Regions from separate parts of the Homo sapiens genome. Here region 2 is linked to region 1. Evidence: promoter capture Hi-C in 16 types of primary human blood cells and fetal thymus (Javierre and others, 2016). All regions are on one chromosome and are shown on one strand. The core of a region is centred on a gene start or on the middle of the fragment in contact, and the rest is flanking DNA. Distances in the headings are between cores, read along the strand shown. Region 1 holds the start of SFT2D3 (SFT2 domain containing 3). Region 2 holds the start of BIN1 (bridging integrator 1).

Region 1 (5,010 bases), core at 781-3,280:
TGTGTCACTTCTTGGGACGGGGCTTAGGGACCTGACTTACTTAGGAACATAAATTTTGGGGTTGGAGGAAGCAGCAGTGCTCTACTGCGGCACGACAGACACCCTGTTAAGGCAACACTGGGATCCAGCTCAGGAAAAGCATTACTTTCAAATTGTGCAAGCCAATGCACAGAAAAGTGGTCCTCAAACTTGGGGAACGTAGAATCACTTGGGGAGCTTTAAAAAGGTCCTGATGTCTGGGACCTACTTCCCAGGTTCTGACTGCATTGATCTGAGGTGTGGCTCTTCAAGTAACTGATGTGCAGTCAAGCGCGAGGACCACTGGCACACAATGTTTAAATTCTAAATATATTTTACTTCCTAGTGTATTGCTACTGACAAAACGTAGTTTTCTGGACTCATCAGAATGTTAGGCTCATACCTTCTGGCAATAAATTAAGGTAGTTAAAAGTAACTGCTGAACCTAAAATGAAGGCAGCAGCAATTAGATATAAAAAAATCTTAAGATCAGCCTGCAAATTGTAAACTAGTTTACAAAGCAGGCTATACAATGAGGAATAATTCGAGCTTGTAGAAATCCATGGTTTCCACCAGATACAGGTATTCCGGATCTAGAATTATCTTTCTATTTGCAGGATTTCCGAAGAGACCGTTAAGCATCTACGCGCCCCTTCCTGGATCCCATGCTTCTTGGGGCAGGAAATTTCTTTTGGTCCGTCGCTTTCGTCGTGAAATACACAACTAATTTTCCTTTCATGTTATAAGGCACCATATTTATGATTTTGTTAACTGAAGAAAAAACCCGAGATAAACCATCTTAAGTACTTTTAAAAGTCCAGTGGCTGAATTCGGTGTTTAATCTGATACCCTTCTGGATTCGCTGACACTGGAGAGAATAATTTCCAAGTCTTAGTATAGCCAAAACAAAAAACTACCGTCGCTAAGCTACATCTACCACTGGATTTTAAAATGACAAAACAGCCTGAGAAAAATCACAAGAGCAGCTAACTCGAAGAAAAATCCTTTTTCTTTACTCAGCCGAACCTAAGACCACAGTTACTTCGAAAGCAACTTCTAATAACCGTCTCACATCCTGTCACCAGTTCAATGACAAAATCTCAGTTTTCAGAGCGTGTGCCAAGTCCAGCACAAAAAGCTGACATCGAGGAGCTCCCAACGCTGCTGTCGCCTCCGCTGGCAGCAGCCGCTCCCGGATTAGACTCGCAGGCTGTTAGGGCAGGGCCTTCGCCACGGGCTTCCGCACAGCGGCGTGCAGTCCTCAGCTCGGCCGGCGCGGTCTCCGACGGCGCTGGCTCCGCGTACTTCCCCAGCGGCGAGGGCGCGAGGTCCTCACACGGGCAGCACCTTGGCGAGGCCGGCGCCGCGGCCCAGGCGACCCAGTGCGAGGCGCAGCGCGGTGCCGCCGCCCCAGGGCAGCAGCCCAACCAGCGCGGCCAGCAGCGCGGCCACCTGCGCGCCCGCGCCCAGCACCGTGAGCAGCGTGCTGCGAAGGCCCAGCGCGGCGAACAGCGTGGCGCCCAGCGCTGCCATGTAGAGCAGCGCGGGCCGGGACGGCGCTTCTTCGCAGCGCAGCAGGCGTCCGCACGCCGCGCCGCCCCGCAGCAGCGCGCTTCCCGCCAACGCCAGCGCCGAGCCCAGTGACCAGAGCAGCGCGAACTTGCGCGCGCGCAGCAGCAACACCGGTGCGTAGAGCGCGGCTAGGCCGAAACACAGTGCAGCCAGCAGCAGGCACCCGCCGCCCGCCGCCAGCCGCTGCCCGCGCGTCACGCTCGGGAGGCACGTCAGGCCGGCCGCTGCCGACTCCGCAGGGCTCCGCGCCCACGTCCAGCGCAAGCCCGCGCGGCCCAGCCACTCCTCCGCCGGCCGGTCCCCGGGCTCCTCCGCCTTCTCCGCGGCGAGCAGCGGCTCCGCGGCCGCCGGGCCGCCAGCTTTCCCCTGCGCCAGGTACTCCTGCAGCTGGCGGTGGAGGTCCGCCATCTTGGACAAGGCGGTGGCAGAAAGGAAAAGCTGCGGCTCACTTCCGGCCCTCCGCTGAAGCGGTTCGGTCTTCGGGCGGCAATTGGTCGGCGACGGCGAAAGGGGCAGGGCCTGCGGCGCTCGCGGAAGTGCCGCGGTGCCTGCTCTGCGGACTTTTGTGGTGTCCCCAAGTACCGTGGTCGCAGGTGCTGCCTGTCCGCTTGCAGTCGCCCTCCCAGCGCCTGACCCTCTTCCTTGTTCGGAGTAGGCGCCCTTGCGGTCTGGCTAAGTCCTGCCAGCATTAATAGTTGGAAGGCAGGGGTGGGTGTGGTTCTAAAGGGGCACAAGAAGTGACCCTTTTGCTGACGGAAATGTCTTATGGCCTCACTGCGTCTACCGTGGCGGTGATATTGTGCTAGTTTTGCAACATGGAGGAATGGGTAAAGGGTACACAGAATCTCTCTTGTTTCTTACAACTGAACACAAACAGTGATCTCAAAATAAAAATTTAATTTTTAAAAAAGTTCAGACCTGTGTAACTCAGGTGGGTTTTTTGGGGAAAGTTGCGTTCTGATTAGTTACCTCACTTGTAGTAATAGTGACCATCCTGATCATTTACCATGGGGTTGATAAAGGAAGGGTTGACACCCAGCACCCTCAACCTGCTTCTCTATTCTGTTCTCAGTTTCGGCCACAGGCCTGGCAACATCCTTGACTCCTTCGCGCCCCTTGTCCAAGACTCGGTGCTGCTGTCCCATGTGTTTGGTGTCACTCTCGTGCTCTGGACAGCGCCACGCCCAGGTGTCCTGACTCATCGTCACATCACTGTGACAAGCTGGCTCGCACGCAGGTCAATCCTGATCTGTTCCCAGGCCGCACCCACGTGCCCTGCTGTTTCTCAGAGCCTCCTAGAGGGTGTTTGCTTGTGGTTCCTCTCACAGGTCAGATTCCTCCAGATTCTTCCAGCTGCCTCCACAGCTCCCCTCACCACCTTGGCTTCCCCTGGGTGGCCCTGTGTCCTTTGTCCTCTGCCCTAGGTGGATGTAAGGTTAACGGCTTCCTGCTGTTTGGCTTCTCAGCCTTTCCATCCCCTGTGTGTAACTAATCTCCCCCATTAAGTTCCTTTTAATGCTTTCTGTTTTCTTGGTTGGATCCTGGCAGATGCAATTCTTTTTCAAAATATATTCTGATTTGTTATCTCACTTGATAATAATAGTGACCAGCCTGATCACTTAGCATGGGCTAAACCATTAGGATGGCTACAATCAAAACAAAAAAACAAAAACACACCAGAAAGTTACAAGTGCTGTCAAGGATGTGGAGAAACTAGAAGCCTTGTGCACCGTTGGTGGGAATGTAAAATGCTATATCCGCTGTGGAAAACAGTATGGAAGTTACTATAAAAAAAAAATATATATATATATATATACACACACACACACACAGACACATATAAACGTATATACACACATATTTGTATACAGTTATGTGTGTATGTGTGTATATAATTACAATCCAATCCAGCAGTTCCACTCTGGATATATACCCCAAAGAATTGAAAGCAGGGTCTCAGAGATTTGTATAACTCTTCACAGCAGAACTATTCATGTCAGTCAAGAGATGGAAGCAACCCAAGTGTCCACCAGCAGATCAATAAAATGTGATATATGCATACAACGGACTGTTACGCAGCCTTAAAAAGGAAGGAGATTCTGACACATGCTACGACATGGATGAACCTTGAGGACATTAGGCTGAGGGAAATAAGCCAGTCACAAAAAGGACCAATACTGCATGATTCCACTTCTGTGAGGTACTTAGAGTAGTCAAATACACAGAGCTAGAAAGTGGACTGGGTGCATAAATGCCCATCAGTGATGTTACCTAATCATTTATGCAGCTACCGTATAGAAAAGGCAGGAGTGTGCTGCTCATTTTATAGGTGAGGGAAGCTGAGAAATACCAAGAAGTGAGGTAACCTACTCAAGGTCACCTACAAAACTGACGATAGGGCAGCGTTAGGTTGTGATTCCTGGTTTCTAACCTTGTGGGCTTCCCATTGCAGAAAGAGGCCTTCACTGAGGGTCCCTCTGTGTGAGCCCTGGATGCGCTTTCTGCTGTGGTTTGGTTGCAGGGAGGGAAGGTCATTAACAAAACCCACTCTCCTCTAGCACTGCAGCAAAACTCATCCTAACAATCATCTTCACTTGCTTCCCTGTCTCCCTTGAAGCCCTTCAACCAGGCCTTCGTTCCACCGTGCCAGCAAAATTGTTCATTACAAAATCGCCAGACGCTGTCGGCTAGTGCGGTGAGTTTCGGCCCTCAGCCCCAGGACGGCACCGTGGGCTCCTCTCTTGACTGTTCCTCCTCCTGAGACCTCAGCGTTGTTGCGCCTGGGATATCCCCTCTTTTCTCTCTCGGCACCCTCTGGCCCAGCCCGTGTTGTTAAAACCCTCTGCGTGCAGAGCGTCCCCCACTTCTCCACCGGGCATCTAATAGACACCCTGGAGGTGACATGCAGAACCAAACACTTCACTCCTGACTTCCCCTCCTCATCCCCCAAAACCTGTAGCTAACCCCTCCTTCCGCACCTCAAGAAATCGCACCCCATCAGCAAGTCCCACCAGCTCTACCTTGGAAACAGATCCAGTACCAGCCGATTCTCTCCTCCACCACTAACCCCACATCTGGGCGCCCCCCTGCACCCCACCACGGAGCCCCTGTTTTGGTCCATGCTTTCCTCACGGTTGTTCACACATCGGCCTGAGGGACCTTTGTCCACTGAGTCAGATGATGTCACTCCCCCAGTGCTCCCCACCTCACACTCACAGAAGCAACTTCCTCACCTCGCCCACGCTGCCCTGTGGAATGGCCGGGACCTGTCTGCCTCTACTCCCCTGCTTTCTCCCCACTCCATGCCAGTCTATGACTGGTGGCCTTTGGGTTGTTTCTGGATCTGTCAAACATGTTCCCACTTCGGTGCCTTTGTCCTTGCTGTTCTCGGCCTAGAGCATTCCTCCTCACCCCAAATAT
Region 2 (4,957 bases), core at 1,275-3,774, 590 kb after region 1:
TCTCGGTAATGGTTGTTTTAAATGATTCCCAATGGCCCCTCCTGTGGCTGTGCTGTCACAGCTGACCCCATCCCTCTAATGAACACTTCCGTTGCTTCCAATTTTTCTGTCAAGCGATATTTAGAAACACCAGAGTCCAGTGAAGCAGAATCTCCCACTGTTCCCTGGGGGCTGACTGTAATGCAATTTGACTTTGCTCATTTCCTCCTTTCCTCAGAGGAGTGTTGGAAGAAATCACTTTTAGAGAATGGTTAGAAAAACGACCAACAGAAAATGAGGAGGAAGGAGATCATGAGCTGAAAGCATGTTGAGCTTTTAGGAGGAAGCTGCTTTAGAAGCCCAGACTGTGTAGGTTTTGCTTTTGTGACTCACAAATCGGGCATGAGTTTATAATAATTTTGACAGATGCTTTTCACTCATGCAGCGCTTGGTGCTTTTGAGGGCATTGGTGCAGGAAGGCTTGATGCAGAATCTCTGCTTATCATTTGCTGTCTGTGTGACCTACATCAGCGGCGCCTCAGTCTGTCTTCCTGCAGAATAAGAATACAGTCAGCCCTCTGCATCTGTGGGTTGGGCATCCATGGATCCAACCAACTGTGGACTGAAAATATTTGGAAAAATACAATAAAAAGTAAGACTACAACAATAAAATAATATAAATAAAAAACAAGGCCGGGCACGGTGGCTCACACCTATAATCCCAGCACTTTGGGAGGCCAAGGCGGGAGGATCACGAGGTCAGGAGATGGAGACCATCTTGGCCAACATGGTGAAACTCCGTCTCTACTAAAAATACAAAAATTAGCTGGGCATGGTGGCACGTGCCTGTAGTCCCAGCTGCTCGGGGGGCTGAGGCAGGAGAATCACTTGAACCCGGGAGGCAGAGGTTGCAGTGAGCCCAGATTGCGCCACTGCACCCCAGACTGGCGACAGAGTGAGACTCTGTCTAAAAATAAATAAATAAATAAATAAAAAATACAGCGTTAACAACTATTTACATAGTATTTAAATTGTATTAGCTATTACAAGAATCTAGAGATAATTTAAAGTATTTTGGAGGATTTGTGTACGCTATATGCAGATACTGTGTCAATTCATATGAGGGACTTGAGCATCCCTGGATTTTGGTATCCACGGATGTGCTGGAACCAGTCCCCTGGGGGATACCGAGGGACATCATGATAATAGGCCCGGAAGAGGACAGACGAACACACTGGGCCATGGGGCAGCACTGAGCGGTGGTGGAAGAACCCCGAGTAGCCGGAGAAAGAGCAGGAGGGCCTTCCAGGGAAGAGGGAATGGCCTGTGTGAACCCAGGCTGAACCTCTCATTCCTGGGACTCGATTTCTCCATTTGTACAAACTGCTTGGTTTGTGGTCTGCAAGAGCCCTTCCTGTTCCTCCAGGAAGCCTCTCAGGGACCTCTGTCCCTGGCCAGCTCTGCTCCTCTGACCGCTGCGGGTCCTGCAGGCCATAGCCCTGGCTCCTGTGTGTGCACCAGACACGTCTAGGCCTCTTCAGCGGGACCTATCTCTCTGCTCAACTCAATCAACAGTTCTTTAGAAATTTCCAGGGGCAGCAAAGTGCTGTAGCCCCTGACATGTTTTAGGGCTGAATGGGGGTGGGTATCAGCAGACTCAATACGTATTTATTAACTTAAAAGAAGTGTCATTGGTCTATTGGCAAAGCTGGTTAGCAATAACCTTATCTTCTCCAGGAATAATGATCACTAATCATTCCTTCCTGCTGGGGGTAGGAGACAACCCGGCGTATGGTGGTGGAGCACCTGGGAGACAGAGGCAGAGATCTCGTTCCTCGATCCCGGCGCGTTGGTTGTAAAGTAGGAACAGTAATAGCACCTACCTCTAGGGCCACGGAGACCGAATGAAATAATGCCTGTCAAGTCACTTAGTACACAGTAAGCACTCAGTAATGCTAGGTTGTTGTTATTATAATAAATTTTTAGCGAACGGGAAGACCAAGCACCGGTTGGTACTGGGCTAGGCGCCGTAGGCAAAGATGTGGAGATGTCCCGGAGGCGCCTAGGGTATCCGGGCGAAAACCCGAGGGCCGAAGGCTGGGAGGAGGCGGAGCGTCGGGCACCGGGCACCGGGCACCGGGCGGGAGGTGAGCCCCTGGAAAAGGAGGGGGCTCCGGGCGCGTTCTCCCAGCAGCCGCGGCTCCTCTGTTCAGGGCCGCGCCCCCTTCGCCGCACTTTCTCTTTGATTTCGAAAGCACTCCTCTCCTCCACCTAGTCTCCTTTCCTGGGTTGCAGGAGATTACTGCTTGCGGGGAAGACCAAGACGCCAGGCCGGCGGATTAGTCCCCGCCCCGGGGCGGTGCAGCTGGAGCGTCAGGGGAGTCCCGCTCGCCGCAGCCCCAGCGCCGCGCGCGCCCCTCCCTCCTCGCGGACCTGGCGGTGCCGGCGCCCGGAGTGGCCCTTTAAAAGGCAGCTTATTGTCCGGAGGGGGCGGGCGGGGGGCGCCGACCGCGGCCTGAGGCCCGGCCCCTCCCCTCTCCCTCCCTCTGTCCCCGCGTCGCTCGCTGGCTAGCTCGCTGGCTCGCTCGCCCGTCCGGCGCACGCTCCGCCTCCGTCAGTTGGCTCCGCTGTCGGGTGCGCGGCGTGGAGCGGCAGCCGGTCTGGACGCGCGGCCGGGGCTGGGGGCTGGGAGCGCGGCGCGCAAGATCTCCCCGCGCGAGAGCGGCCCCTGCCACCGGGCGAGGCCTGCGCCGCGATGGCAGAGATGGGCAGTAAAGGGGTGACGGCGGGAAAGATCGCCAGCAACGTGCAGAAGAAGCTCACCCGCGCGCAGGAGAAGGTGAGCGAGCCGGAGCCCCAGCAGCCGCGGAGTCCCAGCCGCCGCGGAGCCCCGGCCACCTGTCCCCCTATCCTCCGACCCCGGGGCCTGGTCCTTCGCCAGGATCTGGTGCTGTCACCTCTAGAGGAGCGCTTTCGAGGGGCTTCGAGGTCCCCAGGCTGCGTTCCCCGGCGCTCTGGGTGCCCTCTTAGGTTTGCGTCCTCTGTCTCCCCACACCCGGCCGGGGCAGGACAGGGCCCCGCTTTGCACCTTCGTGGCTCGGCTGCACAGCAGTGGCCGGCCCTGCTCCAGGCTCTTCTCAGGCGCGCGCTCCAGGCTACCCCGCTTTGGAGGCCAAGGGCCGGGAGGCTGGGAGGCCAGGTGGTGACCCTCAGCTCTCCAGGCCCATGCAGGCAACCTAGGCTGGGCCGGCGCTCGGGGCGAGAGGGAGTATGTCCCTCTGCCCCTGGGGACACTATTCCCCCGGACTCCCAAGGCTGCTTCTCGAACCGGCACCCACAGTTCCTTCCTTCCCACTGCTTCTCCACTTTCGTTCTCCGTGGGCCGAAGGAGGGATTGGGTTTCCTTTCCCGAGAGGTGCCTGCGGCCTGGAAGCTCCCGCCCAGCCCGGCCCCACCGGGAGCCCAGGGCTACGCACCCCGCAAGGAGGTGCCCTCGCCCCAGCAGGGGCTTAGCGTTTCCGGCGGCCGGGGAGCGGGTGGCGGCACTGGCTTTGGGAGCCCACGGCCGGGTGGGGAGCTGGCCTGGAGGAGGCGCGTGGAAGGCGCCACAGGAAACCCGACCCCTCCTCGCGGAGAGCTGGAATGGGGGATGGAGCCGGGGCCTCCCAGGGTGCCCAGAGCGTGCAGGAAATGCAGAGATTGAGGGGCGGGGGTCTGCACCCGGTCAGTTGTCTATCCCAAGCCACCTCTGGTTTATTGAATTGGATCACGCCAGCTGCTGACGCCACTTCCCCTGACGACTCCAACTCTGAAATCTGAGATTGCAGAATCTGTGTTTCTGCCAGGGTGGCCCCCCAGTGCCCCGCGGCCAGGCCTGCCCCCTCTCCCACCCGCTGCGCGGCCGCCGGGTGGAGGCGCAGGGACAGGCCGGCCTTCCCCTGCCAGGCCTGGTGGCTGTTTATAAACAATGACTTTTGCTTCTGAGACCCGCGGGCTCCCTAAGGATGCAACCACGTGATTGCTGGGGGATGGGGGAGAGGGGGGCGCCTAGAGCTTCCCCATACCTCCCTCAGAGTCCTACTGCTCATCCCTGTGTTTCCTGGCTAAGGAGGTGGGTGGGTGTGCATTGAAGGAAGGGCCCTCAGCCAAGTCCAGGTTTGCCCAGACCCAGCTCCCCAACCCCCCACCCCAGGGAAGGAGGAGGAGGAGGAGGAGGAGGAGGAGGAGGAGGGATTAAAGCCCCAGGAATAGCTGGCTGGGGGCTGGGAAGACTTCAGGTTGTGGGGTGGGGGGGTGGCAGCACAGATGCAGCCACCCCTGCTCCGGGCTGCCATGACTGGGTAATCCATCTGTGTGCCTGGAGCAGGCAGCCCTGGGCCAGAGCCTGCTTCCTTCCCTAAAGGGCCAGGGAGATGAATGGGAAGGGAGGTTAGCTGAGCTGTGTTCCCTGCCCCCTTCCCACTGGTGTCCCACCCCTTCCTGGCTCCCCAAGGCTCTTGGTGTGTCTCCTTTGCCCTGGTTGTCTTTTCTCTGCAGCAGCATCTTTGATGTCATTCTCGGGGCAGTAGGCAAGGGCTGTGTCCCCTCCAAGGAGGTGGTGATGTATCACTGAGCTCCTGAGACACCATCCCTCTCTCTTGAGCCCCTGTTCTGTGGCCACGGGCAGTTGGCTGACAGTTGGTCAGCTAGGCATGCTGGTCTTGGCCAACAGCTGACCTTGCCCATGCCGGGCTTCCTGGGACTGGAGTTGTTTAGTGTTCCAGCTGCTCTCTGCCTGCCGGAGACTAGTTAGGGACCCTCCCCCCATCAGAAACCAAGGCAGCATGACCATCATGACAGGCATCCAGGCCAGGTCTCTGAAAGTAGCCTTCCCCTCCCTTTGGGTTGCAGGCCCTGCTCGCAGGAAGCCCCATGCCTCAACCCACAGCAGCCTCTGCTGTGTGCCTTCCTGTAGAGTCTGTGCCATCATTGGAGGGTC

What was found. The method cuts DNA at HindIII sites, captures the fragments that hold promoters and counts their contacts. A CHiCAGO score of 5 or more calls a contact.
Region 2: the fragment with the promoter of BIN1 here is called in contact with the fragment with the promoter of SFT2D3 in region 1 in 8 of 17 cell types (total B cells, total CD8 T cells, M0 macrophages and 5 more); the score reaches 8.3 in total B cells.

Annotation. Positions count from the first base shown.
Region 1 is chr2:127,698,517-127,703,526 of GRCh38, reverse strand. It overlaps SFT2D3 (SFT2 domain containing 3), which reads right to left and starts at 2,030. Exons shown (of 1, transcript NM_032740.4): 1 at 1-2,030. The coding sequence starts at 1,998. The coding sequence ends at 1,351. WDR33 (WD repeat domain 33) reads left to right here. Exons shown (of 22, transcript NM_018383.5): 22 at 1-2,500. RefSeq lists a silencer at 1,272-1,951 and enhancers at 2,271-2,792, 2,712-3,081, 2,793-3,314, 2,309-3,508. The HindIII fragment of the contact is 7,289 bases long and covers 1-5,010 here.
Region 2 is chr2:127,104,721-127,109,677 of GRCh38, reverse strand. BIN1 (bridging integrator 1) reads left to right here and starts at 2,524. Exons shown (of 19, transcript NM_139343.3): 1 at 2,524-2,818. The coding sequence starts at 2,735. It overlaps LOC105373605 (a long non-coding RNA gene), which reads right to left and starts at 2,533. Exons shown (of 4, transcript XR_923311.4): 1 at 1,863-2,533. RefSeq lists silencers at 2,397-2,456, 2,291-2,585, 2,467-2,676. The HindIII fragment of the contact is 12,156 bases long and covers 1-4,957 here.